4 separate regions of the Homo sapiens genome follow, and all the other regions are linked to region 3. The links are contacts of gene promoters, found by promoter capture Hi-C in blood cells and fetal thymus (Javierre and others, 2016). All regions are on one chromosome and are shown on one strand. Each heading gives the region's core, a stretch centred on a gene start or on the middle of the fragment in contact. The rest is flanking DNA. Distances are from core to core; before and after follow the strand shown. Region 1 holds the start of CARD16 (caspase recruitment domain family member 16). Region 2 overlaps ANGPTL5 (angiopoietin like 5). Region 3 holds the start of DYNC2H1 (dynein cytoplasmic 2 heavy chain 1). Region 4 has its middle 94 kb from the start of LINC02552.

Region 1 (6,948 bases), core at 2,329-4,828, 1.9 Mb before region 3:
GGTGTTTCCCAATATGTGTACACGCCCTGCCAAAAAGGAAGGCGAAACATACTTTCAGTTTCAGCCCACACAAGAAGGGTAGGAGAGAAAAGCCATGGCCGGTGAGTCTTTTACTGTTCCAAGAACAGGTCCCTGGGAAGAAAGAGTTGTGGAAAGGGCTGGCTCTTCTGGAAGCCATAATTAGTATCTGTGGAAGTTTAGGTGAGCAGAAGTGAGGGAGAGGGAGGAGTGGGAGGAGAGAAGGAACTAGAAGATTTTTGCAGGCTTTAGAAAGAAAAGGCAAGCCCAGAAAGGAACAGAGACTTTAGGGGTAGCCTGCTGTCATTTTGCAATCTTAATTAAACCCTTGCTTACCTGTCGTAAGTCTGACAGAGGGTACAGAATTGGCACAGGAGGAGTACTAGCAGCAGTGGTTCCTAAATGAAATGGGCTATTTCTGCTTCATTACTTTATTATTCAGAGTTAAATAAACATGGGACACAAGAGGATGATCTCTGCTTTCCAGGGACTGATGTGGAAATGGTAAACTCAGTCTTCAGGTCACTCCATGCACATATATGGGGACTACTGAGGGAAACAAGTAGGACAGCAATACAGTAAGAAGAGGGATTACCCAACTGTGAGGAGGGGGACATTTCACTGATGAAATCTAAATGAGGTCACTTTCTGTTGATGACGTGAGAGGAATATGAGGCTGTTTTCATGATGTGAGAAATCCTTGTGCTCCAAACAGACAAGGTCCTGAAGGAGAAGAGAAAGCTGTTTATCCATTCCATGGGTGAAGGTACAATAAATGGCTTACTGGATGAATTATTACAGACAAGGGTGCTGAACCAGGAAGAGATGGAGAAAGTAAAACGTGAAAATGCTACAGTTATGGATAAGACCCGAGCTTTGATTGACTCCGTTATTCCGAAAGGGGCACAGGCATGCCAAATTTGCATCACATACATTTGTGAAGAAGACAGTTACCTGGCAGAGACGCTGGGACTCTCAGCAGGTAAGGGTCAGTGACTCACACTCAAGTTCACCTAGGGCCTGTCTTCGTGCCTAACATTTGATTTCTTTACTAGTCATGTTAATCTGCAGAATATCTTCTTATCTCTGCCTTTGGGCCATATTTCTGTAGCAGAGGCCCTATTGCATGTCCCTTGACTCTTTTTTGTGTTCCTTCATCCTCAGTGCCCTCTTCTGATTAAAGTTCATTTTCTGTTCTGAGTACATGGTAGCTAATTTCCTTAAGGTCATGAGAACTATCTAGAAAGCTTCATACAATATGTTCCAGTGTTCCTGGCAAGGCACGATATTTATTGATTGATTTATTATTTTGTGTCCAGGGTGTCCCTAAGCCCTTATGTAGTTGTTTGACATGAGCTTTAGGGTCTGTATTCAAATACTTTTTATAAATTCTTTTCAAACTTTTGCCCTCAGAGAAGAATAAAGTATATTTAAGTGACGATGATACGTTCAGGAAATACATTCAATGATTACAGAATAGTAAAGATTTCAACAGGGCTCTTTCCTCCCGTTGCCCCCATGCATTTTCTTTTGAGTAAGATCTGCTTGTCTGTTGCCAAGCTGCAGATCATACTGGGAGGCCTGGACTTCCATCATCTGCAGCCCTCCTAGGGCCTGATACAGTGCTCAGGAAATGAGCTTGCCCATTCTTATAATCCCTTGAACCTACAGCATGGTGAGGATGGGAGTTTTGGTGCACTTGAACATTATTTATTGTCATTTAGTCAGGGTTGTGGGAGGAATTTGCAGTGAGGAGTGGCTTATGCATTGCTGTAAAGTTTTCCAGAGATGATAAGTGGCTATTTCAATGTTCTTCATCTTTTTATAGGTCCGATACCTGGAAATTAGCTTAGTACACAAGACTCCCAATTACTATTTTCTTCCTTCCCAGGTAATGTTGTTTTTCAATGAAGAGCATTCTTTGAACCCCATCTTCTTTAACATTAATTTAGTGGAATGAGCTCTGCTTGAAGGGGCTATGGAGAATTCCCATAGACTGATCATATAATTTTCTTTTTTAATCTATTCTGTTTTTGCAGAAACTGTTCCCAAAGCTTTACTACTCTTATTTATACTAACAAAATCTGAATTTGTATCTCAAATTCTGATTACCCAAATAAGTACCAAACTTCATCATTTAAGACTACTGAAATATTCCCTCACATCTTCCAGAGACACATTTATGTAAACAATTTCAGAGCTGAACATGCCATTCTTCCCCACCCTGCTTCTCTTACAGTTTTGTGTAACTTGGTTTTTGATGCCACCATCACCAGTTGTTCAATCCAGGAACTTGAAACTCATCTTGGCCCCCTTCCTCTCATGCACCTCCAATATTCAAGCCATGGCCAAGTTTTATGCATTCTTCTCTCAAATTTGGAAATGTCTCTTCATTCTTACTTCTATTATTTTATTAAAGAACTCTTATTCCTTAAGTGCCCCCCTTAAAATAAAAGAAACTTATATTTGAAAGCAATTTAGAGGCTAGAAATGCATGTTTTTATCAAGTTCAGATATTACTCTACTGAATTTATTAAGGATGATTACCTCATGAATGTTTTCTTAAATGTTTCACAGCATGGGATACTCACTATATAACCAAATACTGTATTCTCAAAAATAACTCAAATGCTTTTCTTTAGTTTTTCTCTATTGCTTTCACAAATCCTTACAAAGAAACCAAACATTTCTTCTACTAAATTATTATTTTATAGTTTTCTCCAATATAATCATTCTAATTAGTTCTTCTCCATGTCAACACACTTCATGCTGCCTTTGTTTATCTGATTGTATAGCAGTTTTTCAAATTTGTTTGCAAAATTAAATATTATTATTTTGCCTTAATAGTTTCTAAAAGATCCTCTGGATATCTAGAAACCTCAGTTCTATCTTGAAACAAACATCACATTAATTTTTTAACAAGTGCATCACATTGTCAGATTGTGTTGATCTTGTGATGAAATAAAAGCCTCAAAGATTTTCTCACATAAACTCTGTGAAAACATTTCCTCATATGTTCGTGAAAGCAATGTTTAGTGCTATGAATCCATCTAGAGCACACCATGATTTTAGCATTCATCGTTCTATTTTATATTTATTCTAGTTTACGTATTCAATATTCTTGTCCTCCCATATGTATACATTGTAGGAGGAGATGCTGAAGGACAGGAAAAGGGATCATTAAAAAAATATTCCCAGTGTTTACTACCATGTCTATTAGGTAAATAAATAAAAGGATAAACACATATTTTAAAAATTAATTAGTGTTAATTAAGACCTGCTCCCATTAAATTTTATCCTAGGGTTTGAATCCTTTGAAAACAAATCATATTTTAACTATTTTATATCACTCATTGACTGTTTCCTGAGTGTTTTATCATGCATGGCCTTGAAAAGCTTCCTCTCTGTTTTTATCTAAGATGCTTGTAGAAATACTTATGCTCAAATATGAAAGTAGATCCTCCCTGTAATGCATACCTAGAAATCTCTGGCTTGAAATGTGCTCCATTAGCAGCAAACGCACTCAACTATGTTAATGACTAGATTAGGATTGTCCTCTAGGAATGTATTTCCTCTTTTGTAGCTTCCTCCATAGGTGAGGCTATAAGAACAAAGAGGGATACCACTGTTCATGATATTCCTTGTCTCTTGCAGCTCTTCAGGCAGTGCAGGACAACCCAGCTATGCCCACATGCTCAAGCCCAGAAGGCAGAATCAAGCTTTGCTTTCTAGAAGACGCTCAAAGGATATGGAAACAAAAGTTGCAGAGGTGCCATGTTCAGAATACAATAATAAAGTGGAGTGAAAGATATACTTCAGGCAGTTTTGAAATGCAGTGGCTTTTTCTTAGAACCAATTTTATTGAGCGGTTCTGGAGGAACATACTTCTGCTCCCCTTGCATAAAGGATCTCTATATCCTAGAATCCCAGGTTTAGGTAAAGAGTTGCAAACTGGAACTCATAAATTATCATAGTCTTCACCCAGTCTGTCTCTTAGAATTTATTTCCCACTGACACAAACAAGCCATTTTGTCTGCTTGTATAACCCAGATTTTCCAGTGTAGTGCCCAGTTGGAAAAAAGCACATCCCATTGAGCAAGTATTGAAGTGGACTCTTGCTTCTCACCCAATTCTCCAACTTGTGTTTACCAAGAATTGGAGTCAGTTTTTTACCTGTTGTTCCTATTCATAAAATGAAATTAATGTTTATTTAACATATTGAAATGAAGCATATGAATAATTTAGAAGCACTTTACCAAAAAGTACATTTTAACATTACCTTGCTTCTGGGCTATAGCTTATGACTACTATAAATGAGAGGTATAGTGGCATGCTCTCTACACCAGGCATTGCATCTTAGAAGGTAAGAATGATAATGAGGCCCCTCCTATACATGAGAACACGGAGGATGGGAGATGTTAAATAACTTGGTTAAGATCTACAGCTCATAAATAGAAGTTGACCCTAGGGCTATTAGATGCCAAAGTCCACACTGATAAACCGGGCAGAAAGAAAGAGGCTTTTAGACAAAGAAAAAATAAAATAACATGTAATAGTTGATTAGTGCTCTAAGTTGTATTACACAAAATGTGCTGATAGTCCAAAAATATAACTAAGAAGAGTTGGATAAACTGAAAGTGTCCATGAACTTCTAAGGCTTGGAAATGGGATGGCCAAAACCCAAGCACAGAATTGTCTGCCTTCTATGTCAGAGATTTTTACAGTACCTACTCTGTCATTTAAAATTATATTGTTTCCCAGACTTCACACTGACAGGATTTTATAACATTATGCACATTTAAAATATTACTTATAATAGAATTGTTACATTCATTTATTTTGAGATGATTTTACCTTTGTAATTCTATTTTCCAAGTACACATTTAAGTCAACAATTTGGTTCCTATAAATTATATCCACTCTGTCTACAATTCCCCATCCAACTTGGGTGGTTGGTAATTACAACTCAGTCACTATAAGAACAACTTCCTCTTACCAAAATTTTTACAAATTTGTGGAGTGTGTCCAGCCAGAAATCAACAAAAAAATATATATTATTACAACCACTGACCATTTTCGCTTCAAAATTTTAATGTTATTTTTGTATAATTTACGTCAAAGAAAATGTACTCCTTTTAAGAATACAAGTTGATAACTAATGATACATGGCTATTCTAGTATAATAACATCCTAGTGAATAGGCAAACCGATTTTGTCACCCCAGAAAGTTTTGTCACGCCCATTGTTATCAATCTCCTTCCACTTCCTCCTCAGATAAGTAGTCATCGAATTTCTATCACTGTACGTTAGTTTTTCCTAATCTAGAACTTTATATAATTGGAATCACAGGGTATGTGTTCCTTCCTATATGGCTTCTTTCACTCATAATTGAAACATATTTTTTTCATCCATGTTATTGCATATATTAGTAATTTTTCCCTTTCATGACTGAATAGCATTTCAGTGTACATGTATAGCACAAATTGTTATTTTATGCTCTGGAATTGGATATTTATTTGTTTCCAGTTTTTGACATCTTCATTTTTGAGGAAACAGTGGGCCCTTGCAATCTAGTGGCTCAGTGTTTAGCTTTCCATGACATGAGACTCAAGGCTTATGGTTCTACATTCCCAGATATATGGTCTAGTCATGGCTTCTGTTTCTGGGATGTCACTCTGACATGCTTCAACTCAGTGGTTCATGGCTCTGGCTGTGGGCGAAACCCTCATGTGAAATACTTTAGTTAATAGAAAAAAAATTGAATCATTTAAAAGTACATGATGGGAAGATAAGTAATACACAGGCAATTTCTGCTTTCTTCCATGCTACAAATCCTCCCAGTGGCAAGGAGCACAAGTTTGTGCTGCCATCGGATTAAGTCATTGGCAAAGTAAAGATAAAACACCATGAGAGGTTGGGCATGGTGGCTCACATCTATAATCCCAGCACTTTGGGAGGCCAAGGTGGCCAGATTACGAGGTCAGGAGTTTGAGACCAGTCTGGTGAACATAGTGAAACCCCATCTCTAGTAAAAATACAAAAAATTAGCCAGGTGTGGTGGTGCCTGTAATTCCAGCTACTTGGGAGGCTGAGGCAGGAGAATCACATGAACCCGGGAGGCGGAGATGGCACCATTGCACTCCAGTGGGGTGACAGTGCGAGACTCTGTCAAAAAATAAAAAATAAAAAAAAAAAACGATGTCCTCCTACACAGTGAGTTCTAGTCAAACCCAAACACATTTAACCCTTCACCTAGAGCACAGAAAATAAAACTGGTAGCCCACATGTCAAAAGGTGGATGTTTTTCTAACTCTGGGTCTTTAATCTCCAAAAATATTAAGGTAACAAATCAGGAGAATTTTTGGTAAAGAATTTGATAAACGTAACATACCGTGTGCATTTTGCAATTAGCCCACCTTTCATCAAATAGATTTATAAAATAAATTAGCCACATTGAGTTTGTTTCTGGGATAAGCAATTGAACATGTGATTGCAAAGGCAGAGACCTTTTCTGGCCTTCCCTGGCTCCTCTGTCTAAAGTTCATGAGTCCTGCAATATTTTGTCTCCTACTTTGCCAATTTTTTTTTTATCATTCTCATCACTTGCTACATTTGAACAGTCTGAATATTCCAGTTACATATTACATACCAGGTGTATTAGTCTGTTCTCATGCTGCTAATAAAGACATACCCAAGACTGGGTATTTATAAAGAAAAAAAGAGGTTTAATGGGCTCATAGTTCCACATGGCTGGGGAAGCCTCACAATCATGGTGGAAGGCAAAAGAGGAGCAAGGACACATCTTCCATGGAAGCAGACAAAAAGGCATGTGCAGGGGAACTCCCCTTTATGAAGCCATCAGATCTCATGAGACTTTTTCACTATCATGAGAACAACATGGGAAAAACCCACCTCCATGATTCAATTACC
Region 2 (7,426 bases), core at 2,444-4,943, 1.2 Mb after region 3:
TAAGATTTGGGCGGGGAGGCCTGGCATGGTGGCTCACGCCTGTAATCCCAGCACTTTGGGAGGCCAAGACAGGTGGATCACCTGAAGTCAGGAGTTTGAGACCAGCCTGGCCAACATGGTGAAACCCCATCTCTACTAAAAACACAAAAATTAACTGGGCGTGGTGGCAAGCGCCTGTAATCCCTGCTACTTGGGAGGCGGAGGAAGGAGAATCGATTGAAACTGGGAGGCAGAGGTTGCAGTGAGCCGAGATTGTGCAATTGCATTCCAGCCTGGGTGACAGAGCAAGGCTCTGTCTCAAAAAAAAAAAAAAAAAAAAAAAAAAAAAAAAAAAAAAAAAAAAAAAGATTTGGGTAGGGATGCAGGTCCAAACCATATAATAAGGGAAGTGTGCTAACATATGAGATTGTAGAGGTACATGGCCCAGATTTAGTGGCGACTTGTATTGTATGCAAGGACTTAATGTAAAATCCAACTTTCAATGGAGGGAAATCCATTTGAGAGTTTTGATTAGAAGAGTAACACAATTTTATTGAACCTTTAAAGAGACCCTCTAGTTGTTGTGGGGAAAACTAGGTTGTAGGAGATAAGACCAGAAACAATAAGGACAGTTTTAAGGTTACCAGAGATGGCAGACTTGGACTAGGATGGTAGCAGTGGAGGTGGCAAGAAATGTTTACAGTTTGAACCTTGAGCCAATAAGATGTGTTGGTGGATGGTTGCAGTAAGCGAGAGAAAAAAAGTCAAATGTGACTCAGATTTTTGGCTCAAACAATTGGATAAAGTGTGTTGCCATTACTAAGATGGGAAAGAATAGGTAGGGGTGGAATAAGGAATACGAGTTAGGCTTCAAACATGTTAAATGTGAGATGTCTATTAGACATGCAATTTCATTAATGTGGTCTCATAAATCGTTGATGTTTTATTTACAAAGGAAACTAATAATAACCACTTTATGGTTATAAAGCATATTCACATAACTTATCTAATTTGAATATATATATATATATATATATTTTTTTTTTTTTTTGAGACGGAGTTTTGCTCTTGTTGTTCAGGCTGGAGTGCAATGGCATGATCTCGGCTCACCACAACCTCTACCTCCCGGGTTCAAGCAATCCTCCTGCCTCAGGCTCCTGAGTAGCTGGGATTACAGGCATGCGCCACCACGCCCAGCTAATTTTGTATTTTTAGTAGAGACAGGGTTTCTCCTTGTTGGTCAGGCTGGCCTCAAACTCCCAACCTCAGGTAATCCGCCCGCCTCAGCCTCCCAAAGTGCTGGGATTACAGGCGTGAGCCACCGCGCCCAGCCTGAATATTATTTTTAGTATCTTTAGAACAGAAAATAAACAGAATTTATTTGAGCAAAGAATGATTTACGAATTGGGCAGCACCCAGAACAAGAAGTTCAGAGAGCTCCACCCAGCAGCATGAGCAGCAAGATTTTGTTGGACACAGAAACAAAGTAGAGGAATCATGTGATTGCCTACAGCTAGGTGTTTATCTTATTTGGGTATACTCTGATTAGTTGGCTGCCTATGATTGGCTGAAACTCCACTATTTGTTACAAAAAATATACTCCTAAGTCAGGCTGCAGTTTGCTACAGAGGAACTCAAAGTACAGAGACAGCCTCAGGCAATGGCCTCCTGCTTATTTAATTTAACAAGTATTATAACCATGTGGCAGCTGTGATGGACAATTTTTTTGTGCTTTCACTTTTGTCTTGGCTGAGGCTATTTTTTTTTTTCCATCTTCCACTGAAGTATTTTCTTGCTCAAATAAGAATTTCCTGAATTGGTCTCTGGGCAAGATGTGAAAGAACAAAGAATTTTAACATCTGGCTGATTTAAAGTTCTGCCAACTTCTGCTGAAGTTCTGCCATTTTCACTTGAATTTTGTAAGACTTCAACTAGAAATTTAAGATTACAATATGTGTATTTGCCTATTAATATAAATTATAAAAGTCATCAATATTGTCCGCAATGTTACATATCTTTTAATCCATACAACAATTTCCATAATACAAAGGAGGTAATCAAGCTATAGCAATATTAGTAACTTTGTCCAAGATTCCAGGGTAAGGGAGTGTTGAAACTAATCTTTAAATCAGGCAATCTGGTCTTGGAGCCGGCACTCCCAACCATCTCATACTGTCTCACTGGAGAAACTCTGAGAAAGTGATTGCCACAAATAAGAGATATGATTGTTTGGGTTTAAATAGTAGGTGGTGAGGAAGGAAAGTCAGAGAACAGATAATTATTTTAAGCTGTTTCTTCATTAAGAAAATATTTGAGTGCCTCTTGTGTATCAGTCATTGTACTAGTACCATAAAAACTATGGCAGTTCTCAGGTTAGGAAAGGAGATGGAGAAAATAATGTCTCGAACCAGAAGGAAGATGCAGGAAAGTTTTGCTTTGCCTCTTAATTTTAGAATAATGAAGACTTAGGCATGTGTGTAGAATGAAGGGAAGGAGACATTGAAAGGGAAAATTTGAAGACATTCATCTATCAACCTTCAAAGAGTGGTCATTTTCAATAATATTATTTCTCTGATGTTCAGAATTTTTACAGTTTTAACAAAATAGTTGTAATTAGATTACAACTAATTACAGATTAATTACAGTCTTAGAAATTTGCAATTTTTTTTTTTTTTTTTTTTGAGATGGAGTCTCACTCTTTCGCCCAGGCTGGAGTGCAGTGGCGTGATCTCGGCTCACTGCAACCTCTGCCTCCCAGGTTCAAGCGATTCTCCCTGCCTCAGCCTCCCTAGCAGCTGGGATTACAGGCACCTGCTACAACGCCCGGCTAATTTTTGTATTTTTTAGTAGAGACGAGGTTTCGCCATGTTGACCAGGCTGGTCTTGAACTCCTGACCTCAGGTGATCCACCTACCTCAGCCTCCCAAAGTGTTGGGATTACAGGCGTGAGCCACTGCGCCCAGCGTTGAGATTTGGCATTTTAAAAGTATATTTTAAGTCTGAATTATCTGCTCTGGATGTCCACCTCGATCAAATTTCTACTTAGCATTTTATAGAAATAGTTCCAAGGTAATATTTTTCCCACTCCATCAGTCATTTCTACTTCCTATTTTTTTGCAAGCAGTTTGCAATTATTGATGTATAGCTTATCAAAGCCATTTTTTTTCCCAAGGCAAGAAAAGGCTGACTCACAAAAATTAGATGAATTTATAAATTCATGCTTTATTTATCTGTCTACATCTGTCATTTATTTATTTATTTACTTATTTATCTATTTGTTGCCTATATTGCAAAAGCTTGGATTTATAATACAGACATGAAGTGATAAAAAAGGAATTGTACAATTTAAAATGTCAGGATCTCCAGAGGCTACTTTGTTTTTCATATGAAGGGTGTTGTTTCAAACCAGGGCATGGAAACTAGTAAGTTTTGGCTTATGTTTTTGTTGTACGCTTTCCAGAGGTTTTTAACTGAAGACTCTATGCTCTGTAGTTCTTTCCACAAAGAGCTGACTGATATTTGAAGAAGTGTTTTCATCTATCCAAGAAAAATATGATGTCTCCATCCCAAGCCTCACTCTTATTCTTAAATGTATGTATTTTTATTTGTGGAGAAGCTGTACAAGGTAACTGTGTACATCATTCTACGGTAAGAATTTTAGCAATATTATATTAGCTAGGAAAGCATGATTAGCTTTCAAGATATATATTAGAATTTTGAAAAGATTAATCATAACTACCAAATATAATTTATGGAACAATTAAAACATGTATTTAGAAATGTTGAAAATTGCTTTAATATTACTGTATTTAAACTGAGGAAACTATAAACTGAGGATTGATTCAACAGATATGAAAATATTTTGAAGACATTTCAGGCCTAGATTAAAAACTAGCCCACAACTTTTCAATGAAATATCTGATAGGTAGTAAAAAATCACTTTGCTTAAAAAAAAAGCTGTTCCACAAACTTTCATATTTCAAATATTGTCCTGTGAGTGGCTACCCAGGAAATTAAGAAATTGGTCCGTTTGATTTTATTTACTCATCAGGTTTATTTGTGGAAGTTTGAATTAAATAGCTTATATTTCTCTCTAATGATCAGCCTTGTCTTTCCTGAAATCTAAGCTTTTCTCTATAGTCTTTTTTATTATGTATTAGGTCATATAACATGTTTAATGTATTTTTTTCTTATTTCTATTTTTTAATATAAAGGACTCTTCAGTAGTTAACATTGTAGAAGATGGATCTAATGCAAAAGATGAAAGTAAAAGTAATGATACTGTTTGTAAGGAAGACTGTGAGGAATCATGTGATGTTAAAACTAAAATTACACGAGAAGAAAAACATTTCATGTGTAGTAAGTATTAAAAATAAACAAAATAATAAGAGTATATGATTCATTATTTTTAGGGTAGACACTGAAAAGTATACTTTAGCTTTTGTCTGGGTCATTTTCTATACATCCTGATCATCCTAGGCCAGAAGCTTTATTGTTTGGCCCATAATAGGTGCTTAATAAATATTTGGTAAATGAATGGATCCTTTCTCTATGTAGCTAATTCTGTGTGCAACAAAAGGGTCTCAGGCTTCTCAAACCAATGAGTGCAGCTTTAGACCTATTAAGACAGATGGCTAAATTCAGGAAAAAGCTAATAGAAAGTGACAGACTGAAAATAAGAAAGAGAGAGGAAGCAGAGTGAGGTAGAATTAAAAATATCAAGATTTTTTAATGTGATTCTACTGCTGGTGGAAAGAAAGTTAGAAAATAAAATTTTAAAGAATAACATACGTAATAGTGTGTGGGCCCTTTTGTTATAGGGGGCAACATTATTACTATCTTGGGTAAAACTCACATAGGGTCTGAGAAATATAGGTAGTGAATGTTTATTTCCTAATTTTGGTGGTATGTTATTAGAAATGTCTTTGGTGTAAGAAATATACACTGAAATAGCATGACGGTACATCATGGCAACATGGTCTCAAAGGCATTAGGAAAAAGTTATTTGTACTGTTATCGCAACTTCGCTATAAGAAATTTTCTCTTAAGATAAAAACATTTTTAAAAGGAAAATGTATAGTAAATGTTTAGTCAGAAACCAAATAACCAAAACCTTTGACTAACATTTATTATGTGTATGTATATGTATGTGCTAGCAATTTAATTGTGTAAATATAGTATTAATAGAAAAATTAAAACAAAGATGTACTTTTTAAAATTAACTTGCCTGGTATAAAACTGTCACCACTAACTTTCTTTTACAGTAAGAATTGATGAATCCTATAACTCCTGCCTCTATATATCTCATCTTATAAAGTGAGAATTTATAATCAGAACACTGTCTCTTAATGATAACAGATTAATTATTCTGGGTAATCTATATTAGTAGGAAGCATAGTTTCATTAAGAAGTATTGAGACAATCATTTCTGGGGTTAATCCTGAGTTAAACAAAAGATATACTAACTAAAATATGTAATTCTGAGTATTAAGATAAATTGAGATAGTATTGAGTTAACATACATATCCAAAATCAGGTAAAATTCACTATTTTTCACTGTAATTGTTTTCTGTAACAATATAATATTTAACAGCCACTTTTTATTATGGTTAAGGAAATTTGCAAAATTCTATTGTTTCCTACACAAGAAGTACCAAAAAACTACTAAGGAATATGATGGATGAGCAACAAGCTTCCTTGGATTATTTATCTAATCAGGTATAGATGTTTTAGTATTGTGTTGTTATTGCATGTACACGTTGATGTATAGTTAGCTGGAGGTATAATCTTTTTTTAAAATGCATTCATGTTCAGACATCTATTTAGCGCCTACCATGTTAGAGGCACCATAGTAAACTTTAGGCAAACAAAAAGCAGTAAAAAAATCGAACTTAATTCAAGGGGTATGGTCTAGTGGAGCATTAAAATGTGTTGACAAAAATGTGGTTGCTAGAATGGCACAAAAGAGAACTCTCAGATACAAAAAGCTTCCCAGAGGAGAAAGTCTGTTAACAGTCATGAAGGATGAATAAATGTTTTAAAAATCATAAAGGTTGGGTAAGGCGAAGAGGACATTCCATTCTGGGGAAACTTCTTGGTGTTGGTACAGGGTGGAGTGGCTGGTGAGGTTGAGTATTTAAGGAAAACTGACTATAGGAATAGGCAAGAACGAAGTCATACCACACCAAGGAGCCACTGTAGTGTTTAAGCAAGGAAATGCCACAATCTGATTAACTTGTGTGGCCAATGACTTGAGGAAGAGCCAAAGGAGGAGGTAAGAAACTACAGCAATGGTTTGGACAAGGTATGAAGGGCAGATGTGCAAGAGCAGCCAAATGCAGAAATCGGGGCAGATAAAATCAACGTTAAGGAGGTAGATACTACGAAATTTAATGATTGCTATTTAGCTTTGCCTTTATTCTTTGTTAAAGCAGTAAGAAATCAATCTAGAAAAATGGGCACCATTACGTATTTCAGAGCTGGGTTTATGAGAGGCTTAGAGATGGCAATTTCTTCAAATATAAATTTACTTAAATGTGTATGCATGTGTTTAGGTTAACGAGCTCATGAATAGAGTTCTCCTTTTGACTACAGAAGTTTTTAGAAAACAGCTGGATCCTTTTCCTCACAGACCTGTTCAGTCACATGGTGAGAACTTTGGTATTTCAGCCTTTTCATGTTTGTCTTTTATTGCTTAAAATTTTCCTGGACAGGTCGATCCATTTAAAAGTTTTATTTAAAAACTACAGCTCACCGTTCTCTAACAGACTGGAGGGCTAATACCTGCTATTAAGCAAATTTCACCATAGACAACGTGTACTTTCTTAAAATGGGAAACTTTTTCAACCATGTGAAAGCCATGGCTGTATAAAGATATCCTGAAGCTGTTGAAAATAACATAGCTTTCTATAGCTTTGTTCTGGACTCCCAGTTTATATCTTATTAATAATTCATCTTCAGATAGAAGAAAAGAAAGTTTCAAAGTTCCTCCCACCTGTAAAAAATGTTTTTGACATGTTTGAAATGTTTCAAATTGGGGCATAAAATTTGAAAAGAAAAAGAAATGTAAGACAAGAATAAACTGAAAGTTAGCACTTTTTATACTAAAATACAGCATATTAATTCCTAGAGGTTTGGACTTCTAAGAAAAATACCCTATAAATCTTATAAATATGAATTTATCCCCAAATGTTTAAAGCAAATAAATATTATTGAGGGCCTAGAACATGATCTTTATGTCCTTCTTCGAAAAAGAAGACAATAAACAGTGCCTAAAAATCTTCTATGTGATAGGTAGGAAGACAGGCACTTTCTCACATTATTTTGTTATTAAAATTATTTTATTATATCTCATAACTGCCCCAAAGCAGGCATAATGTGGTAGTCAGGAGCATGGACTCTGATGTCAGACTCCTTGGTTTCAAATTTCTTGCTTGCTGCTCTCTTG
Region 3 (7,362 bases), core at 3,870-6,369:
AGTTTGACACCAGCCTGGGCAATACAGCAAGACCCCATCTCTACAAGAACTAAAATAAATTAGCCAGCGGATAGTGGTATGCACCTGTAGTTCTAGCTACTCTGGAGGCTCAAGCTAGATTGCACATTATTAACAATTATATTTTCCTCTTCTCTACATCCACATAAATCTACTCATTTTTTAAAACCTATGCTCAGAGAAATTCCAAAAGTATTTGAAGAAATCTATGAAGAAATATGTTCATTTACTAATGTATTAATGAGACAATCATTTTGTACTCTCTTTTATTAAGCTATGGTTATATACCTCGTGTGTCATCTTCCTTAAATTTCAATTTTGTTAAGTTAGTGTCTGATCTTCGTAGAACTATACCCAACCCAGCTTCTAGTTCACTCAAAAGATTCTGAAGTTTGGGATCAAAGTTTCTGCTCCATTCCTGATCCTAAATAAAAACAGACAAGAGCAACCAAGATTGATCAAAATTTTGCTAATCAAATTGGCTTCCCAAAACACTGTCCAAAACCCCATTTTTCTTAAAGCCTGCCACTACCTCCACTTCATAAGAAGAATAAAAAGTCCTCTCAACAGTTAAAACTATGAAAAGCATTTAATGTAGAAATGTTGAGTTGATGTGGATTGCATTTTATACCTTTCTCCAATTTCTCTATTTTTTACCACAACTTACATTAAAATTTAAGTTAAAAAAAGTTAAGAAAAGATATTTTAATTAAAATTAAAACACTACTAACATTAACAGTAAAAAATAGATATTTATGTTTATATGAAAACATTTATCCAAATACCTCAGTTAAAAAAAATGACAGCTTCTTTTCTCACCTTTAACAACATTGGTGCGAATACTTGCCGTACTGCTTGGTAAAGAGAACTAATAGGTGACTCTAACATAGATGAAACAAGAATGTTATCATGTAGATTCTCATCAGTAATTACTTCAGGTCGCAGCTTGAAAAACACCAGCACTTTATCTTTTGTGTCACCAAACTCAATCTAAAGTGATAAATGATTTTTAATGTTATCTTCATAAAATTTAATATTTGAAAAAAATGTAGACAAAGTTCTATCACTATAATTATACCTCTTGGAAAAAAATAGTTACTTTAAAAATAAATATATTAAAACCAATTTATCTCTTCTTTCCTTAAGAATACTTCAGTTTAAAAACTTATTCCCACTTACATTAGATCATAAAGTCACTTTGATAAGTTATTTATAAACATAAAACAATATATACGTTGTTGACTGCTAACTATTCCATTCCAGTCAGATTCCATTCCAGCCAGATTCCATTCCAGCCAGAGTCCATTCTAGCCAGAATCAGTAATAGTACAGATGAAAGCTGTAGGCTCCAGGTACACAATGAGTAGTGTGCTTCTCTAGTAACCCAGAAAGTCTATAACAAAATGTAATTAATTACCCTCTTACTTAGAAAAAGCATTTTAAAAGGTGCTTTTAAAATTATACATGCACTCAAAACTACCAAAATGAACTTAAGTTGTCTATCTCCTGAAATTAACTTTATCTTAACTGAAAATTTTTCCTTAAAGAGTTAAGAGCATAAAACTTTGTTAAATTGTCATATAGCTAGATTATTTTAAATCGGAACCAGATGAACTCAATTGGAATTCACTACAGCAATCTTGTTTAAAATAGGTCAGTTCATAGTAATGAGTTCATTAGCTGAGAACTATACTAGTCAAAGGAAGTTTTTGCATTATACACACATTCTCAGTTATTCTCATTTCTTTTTTCAGGAAAAGAAGTCTACACATTAAAAAGCTTTCAGACAAGGTCACTGCTGTGTAGGAAGAACAGCTATGGGTCTCATGCCACTTATTTCTATCCAAATAATTACATTTTTGGCCACTGGAAAGGAGCTGAAACTTTGTTACTGCTCAAATGCTTATAACATTTCATGACACATGAAAAGTATATGAAATCCACATGTCAGTGTCCATAAAGTTTTATTAGAACATAGCCATTCCCATTCAATTACATGTATTATTACAAAGTATTACATGTCTGCTTTCACACTACAAAGGCCAAGTTGTAGCTGCTAATGGAGCCCTTGTTGCCTGCAATATTATCTGACCCGTTACAGAAAACTTTTTGCCAACCTCTGTCCTAAAGCATAAACCAGATCACAGCTCTCTCTTGCTTAAGATTACCAATAACTTCCTATTTCAATTTAAATGGTATACAGTGTCCTAAATGATCAGCCTGTGCCTTATTCTCCTTTCTCATCTACCACAATGTTCCTTCATACCATAAACTCCAGCAATCACTCTGGATTTTTTTTCTTGCCCCTGGAAACTAAGTTAAAACCCAGCTCAGGGCCTTGGTACTTACAGTTTCTTTTGCTTAGAACACTCTTCCCCCAGGTTATGCCTGCCTGCAACTCATCATTCAAATCTCGCTTCAAAGATAACTAATCCAGAGAGGGATTATCTCCCACCCTATATATCTTTAGTTCCCCACGCTGCCCCATCACTACTATAACATTATTTTTATCTTAACGGCACTTATCAATACCCAAAATTATGTTACATATATCTGTAGCATGCGTTTAGCCTACCTTTGTCCATTCCAATGTTACTCCTTTAAGATACGGACTCTGTGTTCATGGCTTTGTCCCCAGTACTAGTAGGTAGGCAATAAATATTTGCTGACTTATTAACTTATTGAATCACGCTAACTATCAGGCAACTAAAGTACAACTGAAGACATAACAAAATATTTTCAAATATGACTAAAAACCTGTAGCGAAGTGTACAACTAAAAATAACAGATACATCGTTGGGCTTTACTAGTAATAGCTTTAACTTAAAAAAAAAAAGTTCTACCTTCAACTTTCAAATACCCAAGCCAAGATACACTTTCACGAATCCAAACCCCTTTCCATCTTTCCTACTGCATTCTATCCGAACTTTCAGTGGCATTTACAACAGTGTGTCCTGATTTTATCATTTGCTGAGTATATGTCATCCTAAGCCACTGGAGTGAGTCTAGGAAAGGCAGAAAGCAGGGGGCTCTATCCTGAACTACGCTACCTATTGGAGAAAAAGAAAAGTTAACATTTAGGTTGTAAATTTTGTCCCTTACTTTCCTCAGCCATAAAATAAGAAAAAGAATAGTTCCTATCTTACAATGTCGTTATGGCTATTAAATGAACGAATACATATAAAGTACTTAGAACAGTGCTTGACAGAGTCTAAAGTGAAAATAAATGTTAGCTATGATTATCCATCCTTTTTATATCTTTGTAAACCCATCATGCCTGGCAAAGTGCCTTGCATGTACTGAGTTCAAAGTAAATGTTTATTAAATACAATCGAATTAAACCTAAGAATAAAGATAGTGAATAGGGTGAATGATTCAATCATCCTATAAAAATGCACTGAAGCCAGGCACGGTGGCACACACCTGTAATCCCAGCACTTTGGGAGGCCAAGGCGGGTGGATCACCTGAGGTCAGGAGTTCGAGACCAGCCTGACCAACATGGTGAAACCCCATTTCTACTAATTGCAAAAAATTAGCTGGGTGTGGTGGCACATGCCCTGTAATCCCAGCTACTTGGGAGGCTGTGGCAGGAGAATCGCTTGAACCCGGGAGGCAGAGGTTGCAGTGAGCCAAGATTGTGCCATTGCACTCCAGCCTGGGTAATACGAGCGAAACTGCGAACTGCGTCTAAAAAAAAAAAAAAAGGCACTGAATGTTTTTGCTGAGTGTCAAAAACTCTGCTAGACCTAGGGATAAGGGTGAACACCAAAGGAAGAGGTTTAAAATATGTCTTTGTTTTATTAACTTAAATCTATTTACTGAGTCCCCTTTAATGTGTCAGGCAATTTTCTTCTGTGTTTTTCTTTTAGGCTTATATATATAAGCCCTGATTGCAAATGCAACCCATTTTTTAAGCAATCCTGCCAGTGGAGGGAGCAGTGCAATTAATAAATCAGTATATCACATGATGTACACCAAAAAAGAATTCAAACTTTATTTTGAAATATATCATTTCACAAAAATTTAAATTCCTAACTAATCTTTCCCTTGGGCAATGTTAAAATCAGAGCCTGATCCAAAAAAGATAGACTAGAATTTGCCTTCCCCCCAAAAAAAAAACTCAAAAAGGGGAGAGAAAAAAATAAAAATAACTAAGTAAATGTTTTCTTTTTAGTTATAACGTATCTGCAGTCTTTCTTAAAAAGTAGAATATAGGCCGGGCGCGGTGGCTCATGCTTGCAATCCCAGCACTTTGGGAGGCCGGATCACTTGAGGTCAGGAGATGGAGACCCACATGGCCAACGTGGTGAAACCCCCGTCTCTACTGAAAATACAAAAATTAGCCAGGCGTGGCGGCGCGCGCCTGCTACTCGGGAGGCTGAGGCACGAGAATCGCTTGAACTCAGGAGGTGGAGGACGCAGTGAGCAGAGATCGCGCCACTACACTCCATCCAGCCTAAGCGACAGAACGAAACTCCGTATAAAAATTTAAAATAAAACACAATCTAATTGCTTCTATTCAGATGTATGGAAGGGAAACATGCTTCGGTCAGGTAGGATGCAAAGCTTGGAAACTACCTGCTTAAGCACGAGGCCAACGCATCTAAGCCAATAATGCAGGAGAAGTGGAGACAGCCTTGGGTTCCTGAAAAGGATCTGGTTGGTAAAGCTAAAGAGTGTGACCCGACGTCCCTCTGGCTGGGCCTGGGGACTTGAAGAGTGGTCAGGGGTCAGGCAGGAGTGCAAGGAACCGTACCGTGTTGGAAAAGGAGATTCCTGCGTCGGATCGCTGCACCCTGAGGAGCATCTGGTTGCCGTCATCCAAGAAGTTGTTGATTTCAAGACAGTTGCACAACAGTGGCTGATCCCAGAGTTCAGACATCAACCCGAAGTAATTCTGGGTAGTAGTGAAGATGAAGAGCTTCCGAACGTCCGCAGTCCCGTTCGCCATGATTGGAAGGGGTGGAGGGAAGTTGGGGGAAGGGGGAAGGAAGAAGAAACCAGTCCGGAGGGAAGTGAAGGGAAGAGAGGAGCTTTGCTCAAACCCGTAGCCCGACCGCGGGACCGCAGAGCTTCGCGGTTGCCAGGGGTAGTCGCTATGGCGACGGAGCACTACGGCGGCGTCGCTGGCGGCGCGCGGTGGGCGTTGCCCTCTCGGGGCACGCGCACGCAAAGCTCGCGGAGGCTATCGACCGCCTCGGAGCTCTTCAGCGGCTCCCTGCGGTCATCGATTGTAAGGGGTTCGGACAAGTTTATGTTGGCTCTCAAACATGTCTTTTATTCTTCTTACTGATTTCTTATCACGCATAATCAGAAGAGAGACATCTAGCCTTCAAGTACAGCAGCGTGATCTAGATTTAGGAGAGCTGGGTTCCAGTGCTCGCTCTCCACGTGCACCTGGTAGCAAACCAGTCTGTCAGCGTCAAGGTACACATCTGTTAAGAAGGGGAAATACTATCTCACAACCAGGGGTGTAGTGCGGATTGTAAAAGATTACTATTTAAAAATCGCTTTTTAGAGAAGCTTATAAAGACTAGGAATTCAATACAATGTTAATTTACTTTCTCAGTCGCCCTCTGCTCCTTTCTGTGCTGCTGCATTTCCCAACATCGTTTTTTCTATTATTAATTTTAGAATAATTTAACCAGCAATTTTTTATTGCAATCATTACCCGAGCACAACCATATTTGTAAAATAGCTAAAATGTAAAATGATACTTTTTAGTTTATTTTATAACAACCGCAACCAAATTCTGTGAAAATACAGATATGAAAACGGTCTTTGTCATTTTCTACTTCATGGCATTACTATAAACTACTAAATTGCTGGTCATTCATCCGAACATTCGTCAAACACTTTCTCAATTCAGTAATTCTCTTCTAAAAATATTTACTACATGCTATTAGGTTGGTGCAAACGTAATTGCGGTTTTTTGGCAAGAACTGTAATTACTTTTGCACCAATCTAACACAATTTGCCAAGTACCGAACTAGGCCCTGGGGACACAGTTCCTGCCCTCAGGAAGTTTTTGCTGTAGTCATTCATCACCTCAGCACTGGTTTGACCCAAGATCCTAGGGTACACAAACATATGCAGATTTTTTTTGTTTGCACTTAATAATCATAACCTCCCCTTAAAACTATACTATTTGAGAATTGGAAGGAGAGAGTCCTTTTATTTGCTGAGCAACTTAAGATTTTGGAGTGGGAACTTAAAAAAGCTGAACTGCTCTAAATTATAAAAGGAAATGAATGTAAATTCTCATGAAATATCCAAACAGTGAGAGATGGGAGTCTGGCCACTGGATGGGAAAACATCCAAACAGTGAGGTGGGATGCTGACCACTGGGTGAGGGAAAAAATCCTAACAGGAACCCAAGATGACTGTGTAGCTAATAAAAAGATTTTGAAAGCCAAAGTGACCACTATGGTTACAGAGTTTCCTGCTCTGCAATGAGCATTATCACTCTTACCAAGGTCTTCAGGAAAGTCTCCATTACCCACAAGTGCTCGGTTTGGTGAGTTGTTTTGGTGGAAATGTATGAAATGGCTGAATTGAGCTTCCATAACAATATGGTAAATAAAAAGGCAACACATGTAGGAAGATGAGTCTAGAAAGCAGATGAGATCATGAGTATGTGATCCTCCCAAGAATTTTTAGAACTCTTCAGGAAACTTAGGGCTTCCACAAACTATGAAATTGTGTTTGAATCAAGTTTAACACCGATCTCAAACATGGAAGCTCCCGTTGACATGTAAACCCCATGAAATAGAAGTTTTGTGTTTCCTTTTCACTACTATATACGAAAAATGAGGCACAGAGTGGGAAGAAAAGACAGATACGGACTTTATGTATTGTATCAAGCATACAATAAAGAAGAAAGAACCTCACAGATTAAATAACTTACACAAAAACACAGAGATGGTAAGTGGTAGAACCAAGATTCCTACCAAAATCCAATTCTGAGCCAATCTCTATATACCATATCACAGTGTTAGCCAGATATCCACCAAAATCTATTTTTCCCTTCCATAGCTAAGAAGTGGCTACCATCCAGGTGTGGTCATGTGACTAATTCTCACCAATAAAATGTGAGAAGAAGTAATGTGTGCGTCTTCAAGGCAAAGTTTTAAAGAAGTGAGAATACCTTAACTTTTGCCAGCTGGTTGCAGATAACAATAAAGCAACAGGGATGGCAAAACTTTCCAAGAGTAGGACCCTAGGATCCTGAATCACAGAGTGGAATAATGTCTGCAGTTGTTAAATAAGCAAGAAATAAGCTTTGTTGTGTTTGAGGCATTGTACATTAAACTGTGTGGGCTATTTTTATGGCAATTTAGGCT
Region 4 (7,048 bases), core at 644-3,143, 1.6 Mb before region 3:
GCTCCTATCTCCCAGTTTCTGTGGAAGGATAATAATCTAACTTTTGTGGGCACCTTGCTCCAATTTGCAAAGCTAAAGCTATGTTCTATCATAAAGGTATATGGTTTTGATTGTTTGTTTGTCTCTCTCGATATAGCCAATATGCTAACACAGATGGTCACCCCAATTACAAGGTAAAGTTAGGATGAACTGTGTGACAAAAGGTGCTGTCAGTCCTCTTACTTGACAACTAGTTATTGTTCATCTTGAAAAATGTATGTAATGGGTTACTTGATTATATAAGGGGTAGAGATTCCTTTCTGTCTTTGCAATCTCTTAATGGATTTCCTGTGATGTGCATCATATTATGGTGTAATGCTTTTTCAATAATAAAAGTGTTCTCTTTCTCTACTGTCTTTGTGGATAATTTCTGGGTTGAGAGAATATTTTGTTTTTAATTATATTTCTTCAACACTTGCAAGCCCAAAGCCTTTTTAGTTAATGTGGATATGTGAAATACACTGGTATAAGGATGTGTCAACAGTAGTGACTATGGGAAACAGGTCACTGTTAACAGCATGAAAATTCCATTTTTTAGCACTAGCCAATATAAATAAACAAAATTTTAGCTTATAGACTGACAGTCTGCAGTACTGCTTTATGTGTAGGCTGTGTTCTTGAAAATTTCACATATATATATACACACACACATACACACACACACACATAAAAGCCCATAAATTGTTTTTAATTTAAATAAATTGGTCTTCAGATATCTTGGGGGCAGCCACTTTTGCAGTTTCATATTTTTGTAATGCCAATCCAGCAGTACCAACATTATCTCATCTGTAAATTCAGATCTCTCTACATAAAACTAACAGAAACTCATTACTTAGTATACTGTGGTGAGAAACTTCCTGCCATACCAGCTCCTCTGCCTCCATTAAGGACCATTATGACAGACACACCACACAAAAGCACCCCGTCAGCTAGACTTGTTCCTGGAAATGGCCAGCCACAGAAAATCTTCAGTCTCTAACATTGAATAAGACTTCCTGTTTTGAAATATTCTGAAAATGCCGGCTCACCTAGTTCCAGCACACCAACTAATCTCAAATATACCTGAATAAGTCTCTGCTTCCACATCCCACTTTAATGTAATGCTCACCAATTAGAGACGCTTTCAGCATTTTTTTCTTTTTTACCAGGTAAAATTTACTCTCATTTCTAACATCCTTGTACCTCTGCTGAAATGAAAGTGATGACAGATGGGTTCTCTTCCTGCACATTTATGAATAATCAGCCTGTGTTAATTTTAACTTGGGTTCAGTTTTGTATTTGACAGTGTATGATGTATATTTACTTGTTTCTATCCTACACAGTGTAAAGGCTTTCCGAGGGCAAGAGTGTATATGCTTACATTTTTACTGCCTGACACTGCCTGGCACACTAGGAGATCCAATTTATATTGACTGGACAGATTCATGTGTCTTGATAAAGCTGTTAGTTAAAAAAGAATCCTTAGTTTTAATGGTAGTGTATTTTATGGAAGTAAACAAAGACCATCTGAATGAGAACAAGCAAAGTTTATTTATTCAGAGTTTTTAATTGCAAAGGAATCAGCCATCATTGCTTGCATTTTGGCAGACTCAAAGTGCAGCAGAAAAGTAGGGAAGCTTCATAGTTGAGAAGAGGAAAGGCTTCAACTATTATTCCCTGATTGGAGGCTGTTGTTGTGGGGTGGCTAACTAGAAGTGAAGCATCGATGGAATTGGTTAGAGGTGTATAACTGGCTTTCTCTAGTTGGTCCTAAGTTGGAAGCAGGGACAAAAATTATTAAAGTTGTCAGTTATTAATCAAGGCCTGGTCATTTGGGGTCAATTGTAATAGGAGTTATTGTTTGGCTTCCTGGATTTATTATTAGAGATAACATTCTGACTTCCTACAAGTCAGATGTGTAGCAAGCTGGCATCCTGTGCTGGTAGCTGCAAATTGTGGGTTAGGGTTCTATTTTTCTATATGGTCTGGCTTTCACTCATTTGTATATTCTGTCTCTCAATTCCTTCAGTAGCATCCTAGAAAAGACTCTATTGTTAGTTCATCCTTCTTATTGAGCAGATCTATCTTCCTTATCCAGACTCTAAAAGCTTTAGGGATCCCTATTGCCTAACAAAAAAAGTCAAAATCCTTTAGCCTGGCACAATCCAGACTCAAACCATCTTCTCGGCCTTTATAGCCTGCTGTTCTCTTCCATGCATCCAGCAATGTAAGCAAACTGGAGTCCTTTCTATTGCAAAATACAACTATGCTTTCTGGCTTTTGTGCCTTCAAATCAGCTCTCTCCTTTTTTTCTGATCTCTTCTCCATCCACTTTCCATCTCTGCCAATTCCTAGCTGAGAATCCCTGAAGGCCAAGTTGAAATGTATTTTCCTTTTCTGAACATTTCATAAAACTTCACTTTAAATGCTTTTCAGAGTAAAGTACTATGTAACTATAATATGTATACATTGCTTTTATCTATGTTAGAAAAATTATCTAAACCTTGAAAATAAGAAAAAATGTGAATAGCACATTTTTTCAGTGTCCCATGAAAGCAAAACATCATTTATGGGAATGTACATGATTACCTCACTATTTACCCAAGGTCTAAGACTTAAGAAAGGGAAGTTAGACTTTTAAACTGATTTTTTAAAAATTAGACTTTAACTTGTAGACTTTTTTAGAAAGATGAAATTAATTTCTCTCTTGTACGATATACAATTCCAAAATTTTATATCCCTTTCTATGAGTTTTGTCTCTAACCTGGTGATCTCAAATAATATTACTTACAAATAATTACTTTTCAAATGTTCTTTATATCAATTAAAACTTCTTATTAGGCCCGGCGCGGTGACTCACACCTGTAATCCCAGCACCTTGGGAGGCCGAGACGGGCGGATCATGAGGTCAGGAGTTCAAGACCAGCCTGGCCAACATGGTGAAACCCCATCTCTACTAAAAATACAAAAATTAGCCAGGCATGGTGGTGTGCACCTGTAATCCCAGCTACTGGAGAGGCTGAGGCAGGAGAATCTCTTGAAGCCAGGAGGCAGAGGTTGCAGTGAGCGGAGATCACACCATTGCACTCCAGCCTGGGCAACAGAGTGAGACTGTCTCATAACAAAACAAAACAAAAACAAAAAAAACTTACTTGTTCCTTTGTTAATTAAGAACTAGAATACAATTTTTGACATGTGTACATTTTATATATTCATGAGTCATGCTTTTACCCATTTGGAAGTTATACTTTGAGATGGGTGTGTTAAAAACACTGTTAGGAGAGTGAACTATTCTGTATGGAACTAGAATGGTGGCTACATGTCCACCATTTGTCCCAACTCACAGAATGCACAACATCAAGAGTCAACCCTAATGTGAACTATGGAGTCTGGGGGATATAATGTTTCAATGTTGATTCATGGATTATAACAAATGGACCACTCTGGTGGGGGATATTGATAATGGGAAAGGCTAAGCATGCATAGGTACCAAGGTTGTATGGAAAATCCTGTGCCTTCTGCTTGATTTTATTGTAAACCTAAAACTGCTCTGGAAAAATAATTAATTAAAAGCAAAACAAAACGTAACACCTTAAGGTGTGCTTTAATTTTTTTCCATTGTTTATTTCCTTAGAGGTCTCATTCCATTGTGTTATATATAATATACGTTCAATACATGCTTGATGAATAGCCTATCCAATTTTGGTTAATAATGAATCCAAAGAAACATTTCTTTTTGAATAACCAGAATATAATCTTATATCTTTAGTGAAAATTTATGTTTTGGTTAGGTTTTTTTTTATTAGCCAAACGATATTTGGCTCATCATGTAAGTTGATTAAAATGTGTAAGTGAAATGTATGTTTACTTATATCATCAGATGACAATAAATAATTTGTATTATTAATAAAAAATGTAAAGCACACAAATAAGCCATAACCTCAATTAAAAAGTCAAACAACGCTCTTAAAGCTCCACATTATCAGGTGGCATTACTCAGTCAGAGGTATCTTTATAAACTCAAAACCTGTAATTTGGCCTACAATAGCACCTGAAATGAATTTAATTCCCTGATGTCAACACAAACAATTTCAAAGTGAAGTTTTCTATGCATGTAGAAAGTTATATATGGAAGTTCTTAAGTTACCTGACAGAAACAAATCCATGTTGTAGACAAAATGTCAGTGGGATTTAAGAAGAAAAAAAAAAAAAAAAAGAGGTTACATGAGGGACAATGAGTTATCTCAAGCTTGAAATTAACATATAATCTGCAGCAAATACATATACTTGTGAAATAGCTTTATCCAAAAGAAAATCCGTCTCGTGTAAATTTTCAGCAGTAATATATGAAAAGGATAATACATCATTCCCAGGAGGCTTTATCTAAAGAACAAAAAGCTGTTTTAACTCTCAAAAATCAATCAGTATAATTCATCATATTAATAGAATAGAAAAGATAAGCCATATGATTATCCTAATAGATGCATAAAAAGCAATTGACAAAATTCAATACTGATACCTAAGAAGAATTTTGCGTAGAGTAAGATTGGAGGGGAATTTCTTCAATCTGATAAAGGGAACCTATGAAAAACCTGCAGTTGACTGTGTACTTAATGGCAAATTATTGAACTCTTTCCCAATGAGATCAGAAACAAATCAATGATTACCATTATCACCACTTCTATTCAACATCATACTAGAAGTCTGTTTATGTAAAAAAATCTTAAACTATCTAAAAACAGCTACTAGGCCTAATAAATGGACTAAACATAGTCACTACAGATAAGGTTAATATGCCAAAACCAACTGTATTTTTATATACTAGCAGAAAACAGGAAAAAAAGTTAAAATTTTAAAATCTACGATAGCATTAGAAAACAAGTTATTTAGACTTTCTAAATTTATGAATGTTTTGGAGAATTTTATCTTAGTGATCTACATGTATGGTGTACTTTGAGCAGTATATTTTATACATGGTCTACTTTAATCTTCAAAACAACTTTATGAGGTAGGTGATGTTTTTCCTACAGCACTTGTCAAAACGACACGGCTTGAAAGAGACAGAGATAGGGTTTAACTCTGTGTTGAGAAAGTGACTCTAAGTCCATACTGTTCCTATTACACCTCAGGAAAAATTACAAAGTATTACATTAGTCCATTAATATTTTAATGAATCATTTTCCCATAGGTATCAGTAGGCTTAAAGCACCTTTGATAAAAGTTACTTTATATCAAAGTACCTTTATTCATTACAAATAAATGTTGTTATAGGCTAAGAGAGACTGATTTAGAAAAAGAGTAAAAATTTTTTTTAAATGAAAATGGTAGCAATTATTATAAAATTGCATCCAACTATTGGGGTAAAAAGATATAGATCTTCAATATGCTTAGTTTTTTAATATCTTAAAATATTAAAAATGTCCAGTCACATGGAATTAAAATGGAACGTTAAAAAAATACATGTGTAAAAAACAACTATTGCTGCCTTGGCAGTTTCACCTACTACTTTGGTGAATTTCTGAAAGGACTCATATAACTCAACACAAAATTATACTCATGGCTAAGATTTATTACAGCAAAGAGTACACGGCAAGAACAGCAGGAAAAAGCTATACATAGACAAATCATATAGTGGCTTTCTTGTCCTTCCTCTGCATGGATTGCACAGACACATCTTTCTCCTCAGCTTTGAATTGCAGGAAGAAGTGAGAGATGCCCTTGCCCAGTAAAACCTTTTAAAGGTAGCTGGTCACACAGCTACCACATGACCAGCCATAGTGCAGACCCCAAAACAGGTGTGTATTATGAATCTTCATGTTTGTTCTCAATGTGCTGACAACCTCCTTCATCTTGACCCACTGTTTCTACACATATAGAATAACATCACTACATAGTAACTATGTGAACATTCCAATAGTTTTGTTTTGAGGACTTGACCAAGGATCATCACCATGGCTGCAGTGATAATTAAGAACTGAATGAAATAGACTGCTACATTAATTGTTTCCCTGCTATTGCATAAGATCATTGATAAGAATGTTGGTAGGACTTTTGCCTGGAATTCTGTTAAATGCCTTTCTTGAAAGAGAAGAAAGTTCAGCAAAGGACAGATCAGGCTAACAGACCAGCCTGTTCAAGATTCTTAGGTTATGAAACAACTTTTAATGTGGTTTTACTGATTCAGCAACATGACAAGCAGTAATGAGACTACTAAGGAAAATAAACCTGTCTCTGCTAGAGATGAAGATACAGAGAGGAAAGACTGGGTCATGAATAGAGTACAGCAAAAAAAGGCTGAGTCCTGGTTTGGTTTGGTTTTATTCCTAGTTATCAGCTAGCTAGCCAGATAGATTGACAGATAAATAAACAGATGGACCATGTTGGTTACTTTGTGAGCTTATGAAAGTAAATGTGTGTCTTATAAGAATTAAAATAGTTTATCACTATATTTGATGTATTCTTCTATACCTTACACTAGTTCAATATACGCTTAACATATACTTGGTAAATTGATGCATTCTGAGCAAATGAATACATTAATGTGCATTTTTTTTTCAAAAATTAGTTTGTTTCTGGATTTATAAAAATGTAAACAGCTCTTAAATTTTTTATTTATTACCAAGAAGGCCATTCATTATATGGTCCATACATATGCATTCATTTTGTGCTCTAGGGAATGCTATGATCAAAACACCACCACTTGGGAAAAAGGAAAAAGTTCTACTGCAGATTTTAGTTAATGAGCAACAGCTGCAGACAACAGTCTGCAACTGCATCCAAGCAAAGAGTGAAGTAGCAGAAGTAGGACTCTGACTAGAAGAAAAATTTGCCTCTAAAAACAAAGCTAAGATAAAAACATAGAATGTTATGTTTAATATAATTAATTAAATTCTTAAAGGATGCATGTATACACTTGGTATTTACTTAGGAGTCTATATGAATTTAGCACTATAGAAGTATAATCAATCTATGCTATTTCCTTGAATTAAATTGATTTTATTCATTAGTCATGGTCTAGTGAGAGATGATA

Evidence for each region. The method cuts DNA at HindIII sites, captures the fragments that hold promoters and counts their contacts. A CHiCAGO score of 5 or more calls a contact.
Region 1: a fragment that was not itself captured here is called in contact with the fragment with the promoter of DYNC2H1 in region 3 in 2 of 17 cell types (total CD4 T cells and naive CD8 T cells); the score reaches 5.4 in total CD4 T cells.
Region 2: a contact is called between a fragment that was not itself captured here and the fragment with the promoter of DYNC2H1 in region 3, in 4 of 17 cell types (non-activated CD4 T cells, total CD4 T cells, total CD8 T cells and 1 more). The highest score is 11.5, in non-activated CD4 T cells.
Region 4: a fragment that was not itself captured here is called in contact with the fragment with the promoter of DYNC2H1 in region 3 in 1 of 17 cell types (total CD8 T cells); the score reaches 5.1 in total CD8 T cells.

Annotation. Positions count from the first base shown.
Region 1 is chr11:105,038,444-105,045,391 of GRCh38, reverse strand. It overlaps CARD16 (caspase recruitment domain family member 16), which reads left to right and starts at 57. Exons shown (of 4, transcript NM_052889.4): 1 at 57-101; 2 at 734-1,000; 3 at 1,847-1,909; 4 at 3,673-3,829. The coding sequence starts at 95. The coding sequence ends at 1,866. The HindIII fragment of the contact is 323 bases long and covers 3,417-3,739 here.
Region 2 is chr11:101,904,015-101,911,440 of GRCh38, reverse strand. It overlaps ANGPTL5 (angiopoietin like 5), which reads left to right. Exons shown (of 9, transcript NM_178127.5): 2 at 3,440-3,627; 3 at 4,194-4,338; 4 at 5,594-5,697; 5 at 6,534-6,627. The coding sequence starts at 3,532. Among named protein-coding and RNA genes, the nearest start is that of CEP126, 7.3 kb to the left of the region's middle. The HindIII fragment of the contact is 831 bases long and covers 3,278-4,108 here.
Region 3 is chr11:103,107,183-103,114,544 of GRCh38, reverse strand. It overlaps DYNC2H1 (dynein cytoplasmic 2 heavy chain 1), which reads right to left and starts at 5,119. Exons shown (of 89, transcript NM_001377.3): 1 at 4,776-5,119; 2 at 838-1,008; 3 at 307-442. The coding sequence starts at 4,970. RefSeq lists enhancers at 5,287-5,336, 5,407-5,526. The HindIII fragment of the contact is 957 bases long and covers 4,588-5,544 here.
Region 4 is chr11:104,699,902-104,706,949 of GRCh38, reverse strand. No RefSeq gene overlaps it. Among named protein-coding and RNA genes, the nearest start is that of LINC02552, 94 kb to the right of the region's middle. RefSeq lists enhancers at 1,010-1,129, 1,140-1,269. The HindIII fragment of the contact is 471 bases long and covers 1,658-2,128 here.